2 separate regions of the Homo sapiens genome follow, and region 2 is linked to region 1. The links are contacts of gene promoters, found by promoter capture Hi-C in human tissues and cell types (Jung and others, 2019). All regions are on one chromosome and are shown on one strand. The core of a region is centred on a gene start or on the middle of the fragment in contact, and the rest is flanking DNA. Distances in the headings are between cores, read along the strand shown. Region 1 overlaps TALDO1 (transaldolase 1). Region 2 holds the start of DRD4 (dopamine receptor D4).

Evidence for each region. The method cuts DNA at HindIII sites, captures the fragments that hold promoters and counts their contacts. A contact is called where the count stands out against the background at its distance.
Region 2: a contact is called between the fragment with the promoter of DRD4 here and a fragment that was not itself captured in region 1, in 4 of the 25 tissues and cell types used here (H1 embryonic stem cells, dorsolateral prefrontal cortex, mesenchymal stem cells and 1 more).

What each region holds. Positions count from the first base shown.
Region 1 is chr11:757,182-763,594 of GRCh38, forward strand. It overlaps TALDO1 (transaldolase 1), which reads left to right. Exons shown (of 8, transcript NM_006755.2): 3 at 1,769-1,876; 4 at 2,941-3,072; 5 at 6,163-6,338. Among named protein-coding and RNA genes, the nearest start is that of TALDO1, 13 kb to the left of the region's middle. RefSeq lists an enhancer at 5,407-6,413. The HindIII fragment of the contact is 7,127 bases long and covers 614-6,413 here.
Region 2 is chr11:634,181-640,593 of GRCh38, forward strand. DRD4 (dopamine receptor D4) reads left to right here and starts at 3,089. Exons shown (of 4, transcript NM_000797.4): 1 at 3,089-3,409; 2 at 5,253-5,365; 3 at 5,468-6,126; 4 at 6,221-6,413. The coding sequence starts at 3,125. RefSeq lists enhancers at 1,371-1,906, 1,907-2,440, 2,976-3,509, 3,510-4,044, 4,045-4,578 and 3 more. The HindIII fragment of the contact is 8,949 bases long and covers 1-3,156 here.

The DNA.
Region 1 (6,413 bases), core at 2,927-5,426:
GTGGCATCAGTGAGGCCTTGGTGCTCCTGTTATTGGGTGACATTGGTGCCTTTGCTTGGCTGGGTGATCAACAGATGAGCCCTGCACCCATGTCCAGATGGCCCCAAATTTTTTTTTTTTTTTTTTTTTGAGATAGAGTTTGGCTCTGTCACCTAGGCTGGAGTGCAGTGTCACAATCTCAGCTCACTGCAGCCTCTACATCCTAGGCTCAAGCCAGCCTCCCACCTCAGCCTCCCAAGTAGCTGGGACTACAGGTGCACGCCACCACACCTGGCTAATATTTGTATTTGTTTTTAGAGGCAGGGTTTCACCATGTTGCCCTAGCTGGTTTCGAACTCCTGAGCTTGAGCAGTCTGCCCACCTTGGCCTGCCAGGGTGCTGTGATTACAGGCGTGAGCCACTGCACCCAGTCTGGCCCAAGAATTCTAACCTCTGAGCGTCTAGCTGAAGATCTTCCTGTGTGTAGTGGGCTAACAAGGCTGCTCAGATTTTGGAACAGAATCATGGACTTCACTGGGTGTCTGTCCAATAACTTTGAAGAGATAGAAAATATAATATTTTGCAAGTGCCAAAAGATAGAGGGATGCAGTTTGGGATGATGAAAAGAGCTCTGGAGATGGATGGTGATGGTTGTACAGAACTGTGAATGTGCTGAATACATTTTAAAATGGTGGGCTGGGGGCAGTGGTGCACGCCTGTAACCCCAGTGCTTTGGTAGGCCAAGATGGGAGGATCCCTTCAGCCTAAGAGTTCGAGAACAGTCTAGGCAATAGGGCAAAACTCTGTCTCTACAAAAAAATATAAAAATTAGCTGGGCATGGGCCAGGCGTGGTGGCTCACGCCTGTAATCCCAGCACTTTGAGAGGCCAAGACAGGCGGATCACGAGGTCAGGAGATCGAGACCATCCTGGCTAACACGGTGAAACCCCGTCTCCACCAAAAATACAAAAAAATTAGCCGGGCACAGTGGCGGGCGCCTGTAGTCCCAGCTACTCAGGAGGTTGAGGCAGGAGAATGGCGTGAACCGCGGGGGGCAGAGCTGGCAGAGCCGAGATTGTGCCACTGCACTCCAGCCTGGGCGACAGAGTGACACTCCATCTCAACAAAACAAAAAAATTAGCCAGGTATAGAGGTGTGCAGCTGTAGTCCCAGCTACTTGGGAGGCTGAGGCAGGAGGATCACTTGAGCCCGGGAGGTCAAGGCTGTAATGAGCCATAATCACACTACTGTGCTTCCAGCCTTAGCTGGAGACCCTGTCTTGGGGGAAAAAAAAAAGGATAAGATGGGAAATTTTATGTTATATGTATTATTTGGCCACAATAAAAAAATGTTTTAAGAGAAAAAAAAAGATGGAGGGAAGGAAATTTGGCAAAGAAATAACAGAATTTATTTTGTAGAGTCTTGTGCACTTGAACCTCAGAAGCTTCTTTTTTTTTTTCTTGAGATGGAGTCTCGCTCTGTCGCTCAGGCTGGAGTGCAGTGGCACGATCTCTGCTCACTGCAAGCTCCACCTCCCAGGTTCACGTCATTCTCCTGCCTCAGCCTCCCTAGTAACTAGGACTACAGGCACCCGCCACCATGCCCAGCTAATTTTTTAATATTTTTAGTGGAGACGGGGTTTCACCGTGTTAGCCAGGATGGTCTTGATCTCCTGACCTCATGATCCGCCCACCTCGGCCTCCCAAAGTGCTGGGATTACAGGCGTGAGCCACCGCACCTGGCGAACCTCAGAAGCTTCTAACCTGCTTTTTTTCCCTTTGAATTTCAGGTCACAAGAGGACCAGATTAAAAATGCTATTGATAAACTTTTTGTGTTGTTTGGAGCAGAAATACTAAAGAAGATTCCGGGCCGAGTATCCACAGAAGTAGACGCAAGGTAAGGATGCTTGCTCCTGCACTGGATGGGCTGGTCAGGTGTCCACAGTTGCACACGTGGATGCCAACATGAGGTCAAGGGGCTGCTCCACCCATGGTCTTCATCCCAAGGGCCCAAGAGGAGGTTTATTTTGAGCTCTCCCACAGTTGGTAGTGATGACCAAGAGCTCCTTGTTTAGCAACTGATCTCTAGTGTTTTTTATTTTTATTTTTATTTATTTTTGAGATGGAGTCTCGCACTGTCACCCAGGCTGGAGTACAGTGGCGCAATCTCAGCTCACTGCAACCTCTGTCTCCCGGCTTGAAGCGTTTCTCTGCCTCAGCCTCCCAAGTAGCTGAGATTACAGGCACCTGCCACCATGCCCAGCTAATTTGTTGTATTTTTAATAGAGATGGGGTTTGACCATTTTGGCCAGGCTGGTCTTGAACTCCTGACGTCATGATCCACCTGCCTCGGCCTCCCAAAGTGCTGGGATCACAGGCATGAGCCACTGTGCCCGGCTGCTAGTGTTTTTTGTTTTGATTTGTTTTGTTTGTTTTTTGAGACAGAGTCTCGCTCTGTTGCCAGTGTAGAGTGCAGTGGTGTGATCTCAGCTCACTGCAACCTTCACCTCCCGGGTTCAAGCGATTCTCCTGCCTCAGCCTCCCAAGTAGCTGGGACTACAGACACCCGCCACCATACCCAGCTAATTTTTTTGTATTTTTAGTAGCGACAGGGTTTCACCATGTTGGCCAGGATGGTCTCGATCCCTTGACCTTGTGATCTTCCCGCCTCAGCCTCCCAAAGTGTTGGGATTACAGGCGTGAGCCACGGCACCTGGCCCAGTGTTTTTTAATACAAATTATAGCCTATGGATCCCACTGAGGACCTCTGTTTGTGAGACTGGGTGTGAGTTGCTGTCAGAGCCATTCTGCAAACCTCCAGTGAGGGGAAGGTTGAGGGCAGTGGTTGGTGCTCACGGTGGTGCTGCTCAAAACTGACAGGCAGACACCCGGCCTCCAGCTTGCTCTGCGTGGTGGGCAACCTGCGTGATCTGAGGGGATGGGTTCTTCTTGCTCCTACAGGCTCTCCTTTGATAAAGATGCGATGGTGGCCAGAGCCAGGCGGCTCATCGAGCTCTACAAGGAAGCTGGGATCAGCAAGGACCGAATTCTTATAAAGCTGTCATCAACCTGGGAAGGAATTCAGGCTGGAAAGTAAGTGGTCCCCCACAAGGAAGGAGCTCTCAGAGATTTTTCCTCTGTTGGAGCAGGGTCTACATGGCATCAGGCAAGTTTGACTCTCTCAGCCCTGGGGAATGCCAGACTGGGGAGCACAGCCCACAGCTTGGACTTGACCAGCTCATGTCAGCCTAGATCTGCCCTCTGCTCCAGAGCCAGCTCCCTCACTTGCTGGTGATCAGAAATGAGGGATTTCCCAGGAAGTACCATCCACCCACTCAGCAGAGAAGAAAAGCCACTAGTTAGCACCTGCAGATTCAGATTCTGTCCTTCCTCTGTCCTGATCAACACAAGCCTATGTTTACATGATTTTTAAAAAGTAAACTATTGTTATATAAAATATATGCTGGCTGGGCAAGATGGCTCATGCCTGTAATCCCAGCAATTTGGGAGGCTGAGATGGGAGGATCACTTGAGCCCAGGAGTTCCAGACCAGCCTGGGCAACAAAGTGAAACCTTGTCTCTACAAAAATATAAAGAAATTTTAGGCTGGGCACGGTGGCTCCCAGCACTTTGGGAGGCCGAGGCGTGGGGATCACGAGGTCAGGAGATCGAGACCATCCTGGCTAACACGGTGAAACCCCGACTCCACTAAAAAATATAAAAAATTAGCCGGGCATGGTGGCACACACCTGTAGTCCCATTTAGGAGGCTGAGGCAGGAGAATTGCTTGAACCCAGGAGGCGAAGGTTGCAGTTAGCTGAGATCACACCACTGCACTCCAGTCTGGGTGACAGAGCAAGACTCTGTCTCAAAAAGAAAAGAAAACTTTTAGGCCGGGCACGGTGGCTCATACCTGTAATCCTAGCACTCTGGAAGCCTGAGGTGGGTAGATCACCTGAGGTCAGGAGTTCGAGACCAGGCTGGCCAAGATAGTGGAACCCCGTCTCTACCAAAACTACAAAAAATTTAGCTGGGCGTGGTGGCAGGTGCCTGTAATCCTAGCTACATGGGAGGCTGAAGCAGGAGAATCACTTCAACCTGGGAGGTGGACGTTGCAGTGAGCCGAGATTGCACCATTGTACTCCAGCCTGGGTGACAGAATGAGACTCCATCTCAAAAAAAAAAAAAAAAAAGAAAAGAAAAACTAGCCCACCCCTGTGATTCCAGCTACTTAGGAGGCTGAGGCGGGAGGATCGCTTGAGCCTGGGAAGTTGAGGTTCCAGTAGCTATGATCGTACCACTGCACTCCAGCCTGGGTGACAGAGTGAGACCCTGTCTCAGAAAAACCAAACCAAACATATGTACGTTCAGAGTGGAAGAGACAGAAAATGTATAAAACAAAGTAAAACTCCTCTATGATGTTCTCACCCAGAAGCAGCCAATGCTATACTCAAATAATTCGCATCAGGAAGAGGTGTTTTGTTTCCACATCTGTGTGTCTGCATGTTCTACCACCTGCCATCACTGACCTGCTCTGAGATAGCATCTCACTTTTTCACCACGGCTGGAGTGCAGTGGCACGAACTTGGCTCACTGCAGCCTTGACTCCAGGCTCAAGCTATCTTTCCACCTCAGTCCCCCAAGTGGCTGGGATGACAAGCACACATACCACTCCTGGGTAATTTCACCACGTTCCCCAGGCTGGTCTCGAACCCCTGGGCTCAAGAGATCTCTACCCATCTTGGCCTCCCAAAGTGCTGGGATTATAGGCATGAGCCATTGTGCCTGGCCTCATTTGTGTGTTTTTTTGTTTTTTTTTGTTTTTGAGACGGAGTTTCATTCTCGTCCATGCTGGAGTGCAATGGTGCTATCTCAGCTCACTGCAACCTCCACCTCTGGGGTTCAAGAGATTCTCCTGCCTCAGCCTCCGGAGTAGCTGGGATTACAGGCAGGCGCCACCACTCCCGCCTAATTTTATATTTTTAGTAGAGATGGGGTTTCTCATGTTAGTCAGGCTGATCTCAAACTCCCAGCCTCAGGTGATCCGCCCGCCTCGGCCTCCCAAAGTGTTGGGATCACAGGTTTGAGCCACTGCACCTGGCCGGACCATTTGTTTTTATATGTTGGAAAATACTCCATTTTATGGATAGGCCACAGTTATTCATCTGTTGGTGGACACCTGGTCAGTTTCCATCTCTTGAGCTGTGATGTATATTGCTGTGGTCGGTTTCCATTTCTCGGGCTGTGATGTATGCTGCTGCTCTGAACACATCTGCTGCTATGAACACATCTGCTGCTCTGAACACAGATGTGCAAGTTTTGTCCTGGACATGTGTTTTTGTTTCTCGTGGGCATATGCCTAGGAGTGGAGTCTCTGGGTGACTGCTGGAGGAACTGCAGGCTGTTTCCCAACTCAGCTGTGCCATCTGCTGTCCCCCTCGAACACCCCCGTGTGGCCATGTGGCAGAGGCGCCTGGGGAGGGAACTTGTGTCTGAAGGTGCCTGAGCAGAGCCTTGGCTGTCTCATCCCATGCCCCAGCCACATGGCAAAGTATGGGCACTGCTCCGTCCTTGGGGATCAACCCCAGGATGTCCAAAGTGCACTGGGATTTGGGCAAGTGGCCTAGTGAGGCCAAGGGGCTCCTCTCAGCAGAAACCAGGGTGCTACGGGCCTGCTGCAGGGTGGCCCCAGGAATGGGTAGGGTGGAACAGGGTGAGGACTGGAATGTGGTCAGAGATGACTCAGTGGTTCTAGCCTGGGAGCTGAGCCCTGGTGAGTTCTGGGATGAGGTGACGGCCTGGCGCAAGAGCACGGGCACCCAGAGGGCCTCCCTTGCCTTTGTCTATTGTGTCATGTGGGTTGGAGAAAATCCTGGTCACCCATAACCCACTATCCACTTAGAGCCCTCGAGTCTTACCGATTTGTTCTTAACAATGGCATGAGCCTGTTCCTGCCTTTTTAGTTTAAGGCCCGTGAGCGTCTTTGGCAGCCTGTGGCTCTGGGTGGGCACCTGGCCTGCATTCACCTGCCCCGCCCTCACCTGCCCCGCCCTCACCTGCCCCCGCCCTCACCCGCCCCCGCCCTCACCCATCCCCGCCCTCACCGTCCCCGCCCTCACCCGCCCCCGCCCTCACCTGTCCCCGCCCTCACCTGCCCCGCCCTCACCTGTCCCCGCCCCGCAGGGAGCTCGAGGAGCAGCACGGCATCCACTGCAACATGACGTTACTCTTCTCCTTCGCCCAGGCTGTGGCCTGTGCCGAGGCGGGTGTGACCCTCATCTCCCCATTTGTTGGGCGCATCCTTGATTGGCATGTGGCAAACACCGACAAGAAATCCTATGAGCCCCTGGAAGACCCTGGTGAGGGTCCCTCTGTGGTAATGGGGTAAGGGGAGCAGCCTCAGCAGCACCTCAGGCAGGAAGAGCCCGAGACGG
Region 2 (6,413 bases), core at 1,839-4,338, 120 kb before region 1:
TGGGTTCAAGTGATTCTCCTTCCTCAGCCTGCCAAGCAGCTGGGATTACAGGTGCACACCACCACGCCCGGCTTTTTTTTTTTGAGACGGAGTCTTGCTCTGTCACCCAGGCTGGAGCGCAGTGGCACAATCTTGGCTCACTGCAATCTCCGCCTCCCGGGTTCATGCCATTCTCCTGCCTCAGCCTCCTCAGTAGCTGGGATTACAGGTGCCCGCCACCACGCCCGGCTGATTTTTTTGTATTTTTTAGTAGAGACAGGGTTTCACCGTGTTAGCCAGGATGGTCTCGATCTCCTGACCCTGTGATCTGCCTGCCTCGGCCTCCCAAAGTGCTGGGATTACAGGCGTGAGTCACCACGCCTGGCCAATTATTTGTATTTTTAGTAGAGATGGGGTTTCACTATGTTGGCCAGGCTGGTCTTGAACTCCTGACCTGGTGATCCACCTGCCTCGGCCTCCCAACGTGCTGGGATTACAGGTGTGAGCCACTGCGCCTGGCGTAGACAACCCAATTTTTAACAAAAGCAAAGATTTTTAACAGGCACATTCCAGAAGAGGGCATGCTGACAGTTAACAGGCACATGGGAAAAGTGGTCAAACATGAGTAGCCATCAGGAAAATCAACGACGTCCTACTACACTAAAATGGAAGAAACATTGCCAGACGTGGCCATTTGCAAATGTCGTTTCCTGGTCTGTGTCTTTTGATTCTCCTGACAGCATATTTGAGTTAATTTTTTAATGTGTAAGGTATGAGTGGAGGTCCTCATTAAAAATTGTTTAGGCTGGCTGTATGGCTCATGCCTGTAATCACAGCACTTTGAGAGGCTGAAGTGGGAGGATCATTTGAGCCCAGGAGTTTGAGACCGGCTGGGCTAACATGGCGAGACCCCGTCTCTACAAAAAATAAGAAAATTAGCTGGGTGTGGCACCACGCATCTGTAGTCTCAGTTGTACAGGAGGCTGAGGCCAGAGGATCACTTGAGCCCAGGAGATTGAGGCTGCAGTGAGCCATGATTGCAGTAAGATGTGATCACATCCAGTTACATTTGATTTTCAGATAAACAACAGAAGTTTAGTGGAGGCTGGGGGCAGTGGCTCACAGCTGTAATCCCAGCACTTTAGGAAGCTGAGGCAGGTGGATCACCTGAGGTCAGGAGTTCGAGACCAGCCTGGCCAATATGATGAAACCGTGTCTCTACTAAAAATACAAAAAAATTAGCCGGGCGTGGTGGCGGGCGCCTATAATCCCAGCTACTCAGAAGGCTGAGGCAGGAGAATCGCTTGAACCCGGGAGACGGAGGTTGCAGTGAGCCAAGATTGTGCTGCTGCACTCCAGCCTGGGTGATAAGAGTGAAACTCCATCTCAAAAAAAAAAAAAAAAAAAAAACAAATTGGGGTTGTCTGTCTTTTCTCATTGTTTCCATTGTTTCTGGATCTGTGTGTCAGAGATGTGTGCTGCACACATCCTTTCTCCGCCTAGCTTGGTTTTCACTCTTGGTGGTCGCAGACATCTTGGGGGCTACTTGAAGGAACTCTAAGCCGACCAGAGGCTGGGCTGGACTCGCCGTTTGGCGCCCAGCCGGAGACCCCAGGGCCACCCTCCCCGGTTCCATCCTGGGAGAGAAGAAACTTCCACTGTCCCAGTCTCTCCTGTGGTGACTTCTTTTGCTCAAGGGTTCACAAGGGCAGCAGACTGATCTGCACAAGAGGGACTGAGCCTGGCTGCGGCCGCACCTGATGCCTGTGCACACCTGTCCCTGGTGGTCTCTCCTGTGGTGACTTCTTTTGCTCAAGGGTTCACAAGGGCAGCAGACTGATCTGCACAAGAGGGACTGAGCCTGGCTGCGGCCGCACCTGATGCCTGTGCACACCTGTCCCTGGTGCAGGCCCTTCCCCCGCAGCCCCGTGACCTTGTCCTGTGAGGCTCACGGTGCCTGCTCCTTCTCAGAGTCCTCATTTCTCCCTTTAACGCACGCCCTGTCAGCGCCTCCGTCTAGCCCGTGTCCTCCAGACCTTCGAGGTCAGGGGCCTCAATTCCTGGCACAGCCCCTCCACTCCAGGCCTCCCAGAAACAGACTAGAGCATCAGGATGTGCGCCGCCTGGGGTCCCACAGAGTGGTGCCCCCTTTTAGTGTCTTCTAGGCCCCTTAGTGACAGACTACAGAAAATACCTCTCAGGTCACAGGTCACCCCTCTTTGGTGAAGAGTCCATAGAATTCTCTGCTGCGCTTTGCAAGCACTTTCTCTTCTGCACGTTTGGAACCTACCCCGGCCTGTCGTGTCTTTCTCCTGGCCTCCTCGCGAGCCGAACCTACTGTCCGGTCCCGGGACCCCCTGCCCAGGGTCAGAGGGGCGCCTACCTAGCTCACGGTCTTGGGCCGGAGGGAATGGAGGAGGGAGCGGGGTCGACCGCTCAGCTGTCCGCCCAGTTTCGGAGGCGGCCACGCGAGGATCAACTGTGCAACGGGTGGGGCCGCGGCTGACCGTGGTGGTCGCGGGGGCTGAGGGCCAGAGGCTGCGGGGGGGGGGCGGCGGGATGAGCTAGGCGTCGGCGGTTGAGTCGGGCGCGGAGTCGGGGGCAGGGGGAGCGGGCGTGGAGGGTGCGCACGAGGTCGAGGCGAGTCCGCGGGGGAGGCGGGCAGAGCCTGAGCTCAGGTCTTTCTGCGTCTGGCGGAACGGGCCTGGGAGGGAGGTTTTGCCAGATACCAGGTGGACTAGGGTGAGCGCCCGAGGGCCGGGACGCACGCACGGGCCGGGTAGGATGGCGCTGGCGTCGATGCCCGCGCGCTTCAGGGCCTGGTCTGGCCGCCCCTCCATCCTTGTCGGTTTCTCGGGTCGCGGACCCCGCGCGGCGCCGGGCGATGCTGGCCTGCCCGTGGCCACCACCTCGCTTCATTCCCGTCTCTTTGGGCCGCCGCATTCGTCCACGTGCCCGTCTCTCCCTGCGCAAAATTCCAAGATGAGCAAATACTGGGCTCACGGTGGAGCGCCGCGGGGGCCCCCCTGAGCCGGGGCGGGTCGGGGGCGGGACCAGGGTCCGGCCGGGGCGTGCCCGAGGGGAGGGACTCCCCGGCTTGCGACCCGGCGTTGTCCGCGGTGCTCAGCGCCCGCCCGGGCGCGCCATGGGGAACCGCAGCACCGCGGACGCGGACGGGCTGCTGGCTGGGCGCGGGCCGGCCGCGGGGGCATCTGCGGGGGCATCTGCGGGGCTGGCTGGGCAGGGCGCGGCGGCGCTGGTGGGGGGCGTGCTGCTCATCGGCGCGGTGCTCGCGGGGAACTCGCTCGTGTGCGTGAGCGTGGCCACCGAGCGCGCCCTGCAGACGCCCACCAACTCCTTCATCGTGAGCCTGGCGGCCGCCGACCTCCTCCTCGCTCTCCTGGTGCTGCCGCTCTTCGTCTACTCCGAGGTGAGCCGCGTCCGGCCGCACGAGCATCCTCACCTGCTCCTCGGTTCCCCGTCCCTGTCCCTACGGAGGACCCGGCGCGACCCGGCCCCTTTCTGGTGCGGAGCTTCCAGCTGGGGCGGCGGCAGGGGCGCTGCGCCTTGTCCCTCGGCGATACACCCACCGCCGCCACCTCGCGACCTTCCACCCGCTGCGCTGTCTGTCCCCCGACCCTCGTTCCTCTTCTCCTTCCCCGTCTGTCTTGGCGTCTGTTATCCAGGAGATGCCCGTCCTTCTATCCAGGGACCCCGGAAACAGGCGACTTTGTCAAGCCCAGTCCCCTCCGTAGCTGGATTTCACCTCCAGGGCAGCCAGCTGGACAGACAGGCAGATGCAGGCTCAGCCCCCTGGCTGCCGTGGGACACACACACACACACACTGCCACAGCCACTGCCCACCACACACACCTAGTGCAGATGCTGGCACACCCCCAGAAGGAGGCTCACAGCTCGCAGGGGAGACCTGGGCTGGACAAAACCCAGGGGAGGGGAGGGTGTGTGGGGACCAGGCCCCTGCTGAGAACCCTGGGGGGAAGCCTGAGGGGGAATTGGGGGATGGAGCCCACACTCCACACCAGGTCTGGCCCTCGAGTGGGTCGGCCTTGGTGCCAGCCCCTCTGCGGCCAGAGAAAAGCAGCTTAGGGCTGAGCTGGAGACGCGGTGTCCCCGACTGTGGGGGAGGGGGACTCGAGGTTTCCCCTTGATGGACACAGTGAATCCAGGCGGCTGGGGCAGAGACCAGCAGCACGGGACACGCGTGACCTGTGCTCCTTTCGAGCCGCAGACGTCACAGTGACGACGTTTAAGCTCCTAATCTCCCCAAATCGGCGGGAAGGATTAGAGGGGCTGCCTGCTCCTTTGCCCTTGGAGAGAGTCACTCCACGTGGAGTCCTACGCTGGGCACTGGGCACGGTCTTCATATTTTTAATTATAATTTATCTTCAAGACAATTATGATGTGGATACTATCATCACCCTTGTCTTACAGATGAAGAAACAGAAATGAATTAACGTGCCCGAGTCTCCCACAGAGAACTTAGCCAACAGAGCAGCCAGCTTCGCTTCTAGGCCCAGCGGGGACCCTGCCTACCCCAGGCTGGGGAGGGGCTCCCTTTGAGCCCGATGATATCAGGCCCGCCCCCAGGGAATTCCCCAGGCCGTTCTCATGTTTGTAACAAAAGGGAGACCAAGGCCAGAAGCCGTGATTCACGCCTGTAATCCCAGGACTTTGGGAGGCAAAGGCAGGAGGATAGTTTGAGACCAGCCTGGGAAACATACCAGGCCTGGTCTCTACAAAAAATTTTAAAATATCAGCCGGGGGTGGTGGCTGCGGCTGTTGTCCCAGCTATTCGGGGGAGCTGAGGCGGCAGAATCGCTTAAACCTGGGAGGCGGAGGTTGCAGTGAGTTGAGATCTCACCACTGCACTCCAGCCTGGGCAACAAGAGCGAAACTCCGTCTCAAAAAACAAAAAGAAAAACAAATCAGCCGGGGGTGGTGGCGCGCGGCTGTAATCCCAGCTACTCTGGAGACTGAGGTGGGAGGATCGCTTGAGCTCAGGAATTCCAGGCTACAGTGAGCCATGATGGAGCCACAGCACTCCAGCCGCGGTGACACAGCGAGACCCTAACTCAAAACAAAGGGAGATCTGCGTGGGGAAGGGGTGTTTCCCTGCCCGGTCCTCTGGCCTCTGGCTCACAGCCGGGCCCCCTTCTCCGTATTCAGCCCTGGAACTACCCATAAGAGTGGGGGCGGGTCACAAGGGCCCGCGGTGGCTGGGAAACCTCAGGGCCTGTGGTGTCGCCGCGCAGGTCCAGGGTGGCGCGTGGCTGCTGAGCCCCCGCCTGTGCGACGCCCTCATGGCCATGGACGTCATGCTGTGCACCGCCTCCATCTTCAACCTGTGCGCCATCAGCGTGGACAGGTGCGCCGCCCTCCCCGCCCGCGCCCCGGCGCCCCCGCGCCCCGCCCGCCGCCCTCACCGCGGCCTGTGCGCTGTCCGGCGCCCCCTCGGCGCTCCCCGCAGGTTCGTGGCCGTGGCCGTGCCGCTGCGCTACAACCGGCAGGGTGGGAGCCGCCGGCAGCTGCTGCTCATCGGCGCCACGTGGCTGCTGTCCGCGGCGGTGGCGGCGCCCGTACTGTGCGGCCTCAACGACGTGCGCGGCCGCGACCCCGCCGTGTGCCGCCTGGAGGACCGCGACTACGTGGTCTACTCGTCCGTGTGCTCCTTCTTCCTACCCTGCCCGCTCATGCTGCTGCTCTACTGGGCCACGTTCCGCGGCCTGCAGCGCTGGGAGGTGGCACGTCGCGCCAAGCTGCACGGCCGCGCGCCCCGCCGACCCAGCGGCCCTGGCCCGCCTTCCCCCACGCCACCCGCGCCCCGCCTCCCCCAGGACCCCTGCGGCCCCGACTGTGCGCCCCCCGCGCCCGGCCTTCCCCGGGGTCCCTGCGGCCCCGACTGTGCGCCCGCCGCGCCCAGCCTCCCCCAGGACCCCTGCGGCCCCGACTGTGCGCCCCCCGCGCCCGGCCTCCCCCCGGACCCCTGCGGCTCCAACTGTGCTCCCCCCGACGCCGTCAGAGCCGCCGCGCTCCCACCCCAGACTCCACCGCAGACCCGCAGGAGGCGGCGTGCCAAGATCACCGGCCGGGAGCGCAAGGCCATGAGGGTCCTGCCGGTGGTGGTCGGTGGGTTCCTGTCCTGAGGGGCGGGGAGGAGAGGAGGGGGGGGGTACGAGGCCGGCTGGGCGGGGGGCGCTAACGCGGCTCTCGGCGCCCCCAGGGGCCTTCCTGCTGTGCTGGACGCCCTTCTTCGTGGTGCACATCACGCAGGCGCTGTGTCCTGCCTGCTCCGTGCCCCCGCGGCTGGTCAGCGCCGTCACCTGGCTGGGCTACGTCAACAGCGCCCTCAACCCCGTCATCTACACTGTCTTCAACGCCGAGTTCCGCAACGTCTTCCGCAAGGCCCTGCGTGC